Linked DNA regions of Homo sapiens: region 1 is linked to region 2. The links are contacts of gene promoters, found by promoter capture Hi-C in human tissues and cell types (Jung and others, 2019). All regions are on one chromosome and are shown on one strand. The core of a region is centred on a gene start or on the middle of the fragment in contact, and the rest is flanking DNA. Distances in the headings are between cores, read along the strand shown.

Evidence for each region. Contacts are between HindIII fragments. The study calls those that stand out against the background at their distance.
Region 1: a fragment that was not itself captured here is called in contact with the fragment with the promoter of CTRB1 in region 2 in 1 of the 25 tissues and cell types used here (lymphoblastoid cells).

Annotation. Positions count from the first base shown.
Region 1 is chr16:75,608,612-75,613,093 of GRCh38, reverse strand. ADAT1 (adenosine deaminase tRNA specific 1) reads left to right here. Exons shown (of 10, transcript NM_001324445.2): 6 at 233-851; 7 at 4,106-4,251. Among named protein-coding and RNA genes, the nearest start is that of ADAT1, 12 kb to the left of the region's middle. The HindIII fragment of the contact is 5,098 bases long and covers 200-4,482 here.
Region 2 is chr16:75,217,003-75,221,467 of GRCh38, reverse strand. CTRB1 (chymotrypsinogen B1) reads right to left here and starts at 2,480. Exons shown (of 7, transcript NM_001906.6): 1 at 2,409-2,480. The coding sequence starts at 2,460. RefSeq lists an enhancer at 2,863-2,942. The HindIII fragment of the contact is 13,252 bases long and covers 986-4,465 here.

The sequences.
Region 1 (4,482 bases), core at 1,499-3,998, 390 kb before region 2:
GCTGGGAGAATAGATGAAGTCAGTAGTTCTCAAACTTGAGCTTGCATCAGAATCACCTGGAGAGCTTGTTAAAAACACACTGCTGGGCTCTGCCTCCGGAGTTTCTGATTCAGCAGGTCTACTGTGGGTCCCAAGAGTTTGCATTTCTGATGAATTCCCAAGAGATCCCATTGTGGCTGGTCCAGGGACCTCACTTGAGAACCATTTGTTTAAGTGGGTTCATTCTCTGCAGGTGGGGATGCCTCCATCATTCCGATGCTTGAGTTTGAAGATCAGCCTTGCTGTCCTGTCTTCAGAAATTGGGCCCACAACTCATCAGTAGAAGCCAGTAGTAACCTGGAAGCTCCTGGAAATGAAAGAAAATGTGAAGACCCTGACAGTCCTGTAACCAAAAAGATGAGGCTTGAGCCTGGGACTGCAGCCAGGGAGGTCACCAACGGAGCAGCTCACCATCAGAGTTTTGGCAAGCAGAAAAGTGGCCCAATCTCACCAGGCATCCACAGCTGTGATCTCACTGTAGAGGGACTGGCTACTGTCACCAGAATAGCCCCTGGTAGTGCCAAAGTGATAGACGTTTATAGAACTGGAGCCAAGTGTGTACCTGGAGAAGCTGGAGACTCCGGAAAGCCGGGTGCTGCGTTTCACCAGGTGGGGCTGCTCCGAGTGAAGCCAGGCCGTGGAGACAGAACACGCTCCATGTCCTGTAGTGACAAGATGGCCCGATGGAACGTCCTCGGATGCCAAGGGGCACTGTTGATGCACTTGCTGGAAGAGCCCATCTACCTGTCAGCTGTGGTCATTGGGAAGTGCCCATACAGCCAGGAAGCCATGCAGAGAGCACTGATTGGAAGGTGAGAGGGTAGGGAGGGCTCAATTGGAACAGTCATTCCAAGAGGCAGTCTGAGGGTAAGGCCTAAGAGCATTAAGAATCTCCATACCTTTTGATCCAGCAGTTCCACTTCCAGGAATTTGTCTTAAGGAAATAATTAAAGTATTTGAACATTTAGCTTTGTATATAATTTTTTTTTGTTTTTTAGAGACGGAGTCTTGCTCTGTCACCCAGGCTGGGGTGCAATGGCGTGCTCTGGGCTCACTGCAGCCACCGCCTCCTGGGTTCAAGTGATTCTCCTGCCTCAGCTTCATGAGTAGCTGGGACTACAGGCATGCGCCACCACGCCTGGCTAATTTTTGTATTTTTAGTAGAGACGGGGTTTCACCATGTTGGTCAGGCTGGTCTCAAACTCCTGACCTCAGGTGATCCACCCACCTCGGTCTCCCAAAGTGCTGGGATTACAGGTGTGAGCCACCGCGCCCGGCTAATAATTTTTTTAAAGAAGAAAAGTAAACAACTGAAATGCCCAGTAATAGGAAATTAAGTGTTTTCTTTGTTGTTAAAAATAGTATTGATGAATGGCTGGGCATGGTGGCTCACGACTGTAATCCCAGCACTTTGGGAGGTCGAGGGGGGCGGATTGCTTGAGCACAGAAGTTCTAGACCAGCCTAGGTAACATGAGGAAACCCCGTCTTTACAAAAAATACAAAAACTAGCCAGATGTGGCACGCACCTGTAGTCCTAGAATAGGGCAGCTGAGGCAGGAGGATCACCTGACCCTGGGAAGATTGAGGCTGCAGTGAACCAAGGTCATTCCACTGCACTCCAGCCTGGGTGACAGACCCTGTCTCAAATAAAATAATAATATTTATGAATATTTAATATGGAAACATGTCTATACTGTTTAAAGAACAGTTTAGAAGATAAAAAGCCAATTTTGGTCTTAAAGTACATCCACACATAAGAAAAATTATAAGAGGATGAGCGCTAAGGTATTATTAATAATCTCTGAGTTGTATTATGGGTGGTTTTTTTCTTCTTTGTTTTTAATATATTTTCTGATTTTTCTACAGTGCACATACATTGCCATTATATATGTTTTTTAACCCTAAACATTAGTTTGGGGCTTTCAGAATGTTTTTGTAGTGACAAGGTTTCACTGGGTCTCACCCAGACTGGAGTGCAGTGGTACAATCATAGTTTACTACAGCCTCCAGTTCCTGAGCTCAAGTGATCCTCCTGCCTCAGCCTCCTGAATAGCTAAGATTACAGGCATAAGCCACCACACTTGGCTGATTTTTAAATTTTTTTTGTGGAGACGGGGTGTTATTGGGTTACCCAGGCTGGTCTTGAACTCCTGGCCTTAAGTAATTCTCCCACCTTGGCCTGCCACAGTGTTGGGATTATAGGTGTGAGCCACCTCACCCAGCCCTAAACATTAGTTTTAATTTTTTTAAAGTTAAAAGTCAAAAGATGACCACTCAAGTGTGGTCTCCCTAAAGGAGGCAGCCAAACTCAGTGCTATAGGAAATGAGGGCAGGGCAAAGCCATGGCCAGGGCAAGCCTCATAGGCCCATATCAAATGTGAAGCCTCAAGATATGGTCCAGCAATTCCACTCCTAGGTACAACCCAAAATAAATGAAAACATACATTCACACAAGTAGGCCAAGTACAGTAGCTCATGCCTGTAATCCTAGCATCTTGGGAGGCCATGTCACGCAGATTGCTTGAGTCCAGGAGTTCAAGACCAACCTGGTCAACATGAGGAAACCCTGTCTCTACAAAAAATACAAAACTCAGCCAGGTGTGGTGGCACACACTTGTAGTCCCATCTGCATGGGGAGCTGATGTGGGAGGATCACCAGAGCCACGGGATGTTGAGGCTGCAGTGAACCGTGATTTCACCACTGCACTCCATCCTAGACAACAGAGTGAAACCCTGTCTCCAAAAAAAAAAAAAAGTGTATATGTATATAACAAAAACCTGTACATAAATGTTCACAACAGCATTATTCATAATAAACAAAAAGACAAATGTCCATTAGTGGATGAATGGATAAATCAAATGTGATATATCCATACAATGGACTATGATTCAGCTATAAAAACGACTGAAGTACTATTACATGCTGCAGCATGGATGAACTTGAAAATATAATGCTAAGTGAAAGAAATCACATATTGTATAATTTTATTTGTGTAATATCTAGAACAGGCAAATCCATAAAGACAGATAATAGCTTAGTAGTTACCACAGGCTAGGTGCTGTGGCTCATGCCTGTAATGCCAGCACTTTGGGAGGCTGGAGTGGGAGGATCGCTTGAGCCAAGGAGTTCAAGACCAGCCTAGGCAATATGGCAAAATCCCATCTCTACAAAAAATTTAAAAATTAGTCGGACATGATGGTGCATGCCTGTAGTCTCAGCTACTTGGGAGGTGGAGGTGGGAGGATCGCTTGAGACCAGGGGGCAGAAGTTGCAGTGAGCCGAGATCATGTGACTGCACTCCAGTCTGAGCAACAGAGACCCTATCTCAAAAAAACAAAAAATTTAAGTGGTTACCAGGGAATAGAGAGTGAATGCTAATAGGTACGAGGTTTCTTTCTGGGGTGATGAAAATTCCTTAAATTACATTACCATGATAGTTGTACAGTTCTATGAATATACTAAAAACAATTGAATTATCCACTTTAAATGAGTACATTTTATGGTATGTGAACTATATCCCTATAAAGATGTTGGTTTTTTGTTTTTTTTTAAAAAAGCCAACCCTAGGCACTGTGCCTGGGATGTTTTCTGTTTTTCCTATTCTGGTACTTGCAGTTGCTATCTGCTTCATTCTAGACCAGCATCATGTTGGCATCTAGTTTGTTCAAAGATACAAGAGAAAAAAATGAAGCTTTTATATTATAGGATAATTTTGGGTTTTGGTGTGTTTGAAGGATTCCCTAGGAAGCAGGTGCCAACACATTAATGTTTCTGCTTAAACTTTTCAAGTTTCTCAAAGCCTATATCAGGAATGGAGTTTGGTGTTACATCCCTGAAGGGTGTTGACTTGATTCTTAGTTATCCCTGCAGATTGAGGGAGAAGGATCTTCTTCCAGCCATGAGGTGCTTACAATCTTGATTCTATTCTGAAACACTGTCTGCCCAAATAAATAAACAAATCCCCACACCTGCTAAGGCTCAGGGGTGATGATGTGAGCCACAATCCTAGATACTGTTTTCTCTAGGCATGCACCTAAACTGAATGCATTTTCCCTTGTATTTAGGTGTCAGAATGTGTCTGCTTTACCAAAAGGCTTCGGAGTTCAAGAATTAAAAATACTGCAGTCAGATTTACTATTTGAACAGAGCCGCAGTGCGGTGCAGGCAAAAAGGGCTGATAGCCCAGGTCGACTTGTTCCTTGTGGGGCAGGTAAGAGATCCAGGTTAGACCTGCCCTGGAGTAACTGCTCCCCTGACTGAGAGTGGCCCCAGAGGGTCGGCATCCTCCCAGCCTAGGAAGGTAGTTCACCACTCTAGTGGCCGGTAGTGTGGGCTTTAGAGACACCCATAGTGGGTCACGTTTATGCTCTTGTGACCCCCGGCATGTTATTTACCCTCCCTTGGCCTCAATTTCTTTGTCTTCAGATTAGAAGAATATCAT
Region 2 (4,465 bases), core at 1,231-3,730:
GAATCGCTTGAACCTGGGGGACAGAGGTTGCAGTAAGCTGAGATCGTGCCACTGCACTCCAGCCTGGGTGACAGAGCCAAACTCCATCTCAAGAAAAAATCAAAACAAACACAGCTGGACTTTACTTCCACACCATAAAATGGCACATTGGAAGCAGAAAACAAAACAATGAAAATAGTCAGGTGTTCCACACACGCCCACCATGCCTCTGCTATGTCAGGACCAGATTCTCGACTCCTGTGCGCGGGCCAACCCAACAAACTGGGCTTTACATTTGAGCACACCCGCGTCCCTCAGACCAGCTGTCCCCTTCTGGGGTCATATTCGCCTGCTTACAAGGCAGCCCCTGCGTCTCCTGCCCACAGGAACACAGGCAGGCAAGGTGCCTCCCTGACGTTTCAGAGCATCAAAAACTGGTATTGTAATAGCAAAAAAATGAGAAAGAGCACGTTGGAAGGCCGAGGCAGGTGGATCACAAGGTCAGGAGTTCAAGACCAGCCTGGCCAATATGATGAAACCCTGTCTCTACTAAAAATACAAAAATTAGCTGGGGTGGTGGCTCATGCCTGTAGTTCCAGCTACTCAGGAGGCTGAGGCAGGAGAAATGCTTGAACCTGGGAGGTGGAGGTTGCAGTGAGCCGAAATCATGCCACTGCACTCCAGCCAGGGCGACAAGTGTGAAACTCCATCTAAAAAAATAAATAAATAAATAAGAGAACTAGATGGTGGCATACTCACACAACAGAGCACGCATTATAAAAATGCAGGTGAATGAGCTGAAACTCCACGTCAACATGCAGGAAGTGAGAAGATTTGAGTAGGGAAAAAGCACATTGTTGTAGAATGGAGGTAGAATGGAGTATTAGTTACATCAGCCAGGCACAGTGGCTCACACCTGTAATCCAGCACCCTGGGAGGTTGAGGTGAGCAGATCACTCGAGCACAGGATTTCGAGACCAGCCTGGACAACATAATAAGACCCCAGGTCGGGCATGGGGGCTCACGCCTGTAATCCCATCACTTTGGGAGGCTGAGGTGGGCGGATCACTGGAGGTTAGGAGTTCAAGACCAGCCTGACCAATATGGTGAAACCCCATCTCTATTAAAAATACAAAAATTAGCCAGGTGTGGTGATGCATGCCTGTAATCCCAGCTACTCAGTAGGCTGAGGCAGGAGAAATGCTTGAACCCAGGAGGCGGAGGTTGCAGTGAGCCAAGATCACGCCACTGCACTCCAGCCTGGGTGACAAGAGTGAAACTCTGTCTCAAAGAAAAGAAAAAAAAATAACAAAAAAAACCTCCATCTCTACAAAACAAAACAAGTTTTTAAACTTAGCGTGCCTGTAGCGCCAGCTACTCGGGAGGCTATAGTGGGAGGATCACTCGAGCCCTTGAGTTTGAGGCTGCAAACTCACACTACTGCACTCCAGCCTGGGTGACAGAGTGAGACCCTGTCTCAAAACCAAAACCAAAACCAAAACCAAAAACAGGATAGAATACCGTTCCATTGATGTAACCTTTTTGAAACCTTATGTATAGATGTATAAAAATATGTAGTACAATTGTATAAGCTCACACTGCAATTATTCATAGAAAGTTCAGAATCAAGCTCACATTCCAGAGAGGGAAGGAGGGAGAAAAGGGAAGCCTGAGTACAATCTGTTTTAGAAATATCTGAAGCAAATGTGCAAAAAGATTTGCTGAATTCTGACAGTAGATACAAGGATGTCATATTCTTTTCTGTATTTTCTTTTACTATTTCTCTTTTAAAAAATAGAAAACACGGCTGGGCACAGTAGCTCATGCCTGTAATCCCAGCACTTTGGGAGGCCGAGGCGGGGGCATCACCTGAGGTCAGGAGTTCAAGACCAGCCTGGCCAACGTGGTGAAAGCCCGTCTCTACTAAAAATTAGCCAGGGTTGGTGGTCCATGCCTGTAGTCCCAGCTGCTCGGGAAGCTGAGGCAGGAAGATCATTTGAACCCAGGAGATGGAGGTTGCAGTAAGTGGAGATTGCACCATTGCACTCCAGCCTCGGCAATAGGAGTGAAATTCTGTCTCGAAAAAAAAAAAAGAAAGAAAGGAAGAAAATGCTTGACAAGTACCCAGCACAATAAAAACCCCGGTGGAGGCCTTGGGAGGTCTCCTGGGGCCACACCTTACCCTGCACAAGGCACCCCCACCCCAGCCACTTCTGGAGCCTCAGACCATGGCAGAGACCAGCATCGTCCTTCCCACTCCTGGAGCAGGTTGTGTGGGCTCAGAAAGCCCCAGAATGCACCCTCTCCTGAGCCCTCAGGTTACCTGTGCTGGGGATGAGGCCCCAGGGGGCAGAGCAGGGGACTCAGATCCCCCTCTCAGCCAGGCTCAGGGCTCCCTCAGGACAGACCCCTCGGGCACCAGCACTCACCAAAGGCGGCCCCCACAAGGGAGAAGCAGGAGAGGAGCCAGAGGGAAGCCATGCCGCTGCCTCAGAAGGTGTGGGGCCTGCCAGCTGCGGGGCCCCTTTTACCACCTTGGGGGGGCAGGGAGCCCAGCCCCCCCCGCTCCCCCAGCCAGGGAGGCCTGAGCCCACCCTCCCTGTTACCCAGGGACCTTGGGCAATAAGTGGAGACAGAGCCCCGCCTGGCTCTCTACCAGACAACCCCAGTCCCTGGGAAAGGGGCAGCTGCGCTGACATCACCGGTCAGCCTTGGGGACATGATCCCACAGAGCCAGCTGTGAGCTGCAGTATCCCTGCCAGGAGACGGCACCAGGCTCTTCTGTTCCCAGAGGGGAAGTGGAGGCAGTTCCACCCCAGGGCTCGTGGAGGACCAGCTGCTGTCATGGAACCAGGTCTCCGGGAACTCAGGCTCTCAGTGAAGGGTGTTTCCGCCTAACACTGTCCTAGAAGCAAAGGGTGACTCAGGGCATCGTGGATTCTCCAGAGTGTCACTGCAAGTCACCAGTGAAGCCAAGCCACTTCTGACTGTGGCGAGGGTCTGGGTGACAAGGACCAACCCGCTGGTGGCCGTAACAGGTGGGCAAAGCCACTGACACGCGTCCCACCTGTGCTGTAGAACCCAACAGAATTCACTTTTTCTGCAATGACTCATGATATAAGGAACTAATCATTTCATAAAGTTTCAGTTTCTTACAAAATGGAACTTGGATTCCGCACCATAAAATGACACAGAAAACAAACTTTTTAAGATGGAGTCTCACTCTGTCACCCAGGCCGGAGTGCAGTGGCGCAATTTCAGCTCACTGCAGCCTCCTCTTCCCGGGTTCAACTGATTCTCCTGCCTCAGCCTCCCAAGTAGCTGGGATTACAGGTGCCCACCACACCCAGCTATTTTTTTTTTTTTTTGAGATGGGGTCTTGCTCTGCTGCCTAGGCTGGAGTGCAGTGGCACAATCTTGGCTCACTGCAGCCTCCACCTCCCAGGTTCAAGCAATTCTCCCACCTCAGCCTCTTGAGTAGCTGGGATTACAGGCATAGCACCAAACCTGGCTAATTTTTATATTTTTAGTAGAGACGGGGTTTCACCATGTTGGCCAGGCTGGTCCCAAACTCCTGATCTCGGGTGATCCACCTTCCTCGGCCTCCCAAAGTGCTGGGATTACAGGCGTTAGCCACCGCACTTGGCCAATTGTTGTATTTTTAGTAGAGACAGGGTTTTACCACGTTGGCCAGGCTCCTCTTGAGCTCCCGGCCTCAGGTGATCCTGTGGCCTTGGCCTCCTAAAGTGCTGAAATTACAGGCGTGAGTCACTGCGCCTGTCTGAAAATAAATTTTGAGGAAGCAGAAAAACTTTTTTCATTGTCACAAAACAAGGAGGAAAGACAGGTGTGGGTGACAGGTCGGTGACTGGGCAGAAAGTGAAGGCCAAGGGATCCTCAGCACCCTGTGGGCAGATATTCAGGGGACAGAGCCCGCAGCATCCCTGCCCTTATGGGCCTGAGACGCTCATGACAGACACACACGACACAGATGAGCATGTAATATAGTGACCACAGTCACCTGGGGCAAGGCTGGACAGGACAGGCTGTACTGCATTTCCGGACGATGAGGGTATGAAAGTAAGACACAGTGGGTGGATGGTGTTTCCATGGAAGGCCTTGGGCTCTGTGGTCAGCGGGCCAGGTCACCTTGGCATTTAGAATATCCCCTCCCCACTCCCACCGCTGCTGGAGAATGCACAACTATAAAGCAAAACTAAACTTATATACTAAAGAGAAAATTTCAAAAGTTCACATCACCATGTTACCCTTTTTTTTTCTTTTTCCCCTGAGACAGAGTCTTGCTCTGTCGCCTAGGCTGGAGTGCAGGGGTGTGACCTCAGCTCACTGCAACCTTTGCCTCCCAGGTTGAAGCGATTCTCCTGCCTCAGTCCCCCCAAGTAGCTGGGATTACAGGCGTCTGCCACCATGCCCAGCTAATTTTTGTATTTTTAGTAGAGATGGGGTTTTGCCATGTTGGCCAGGA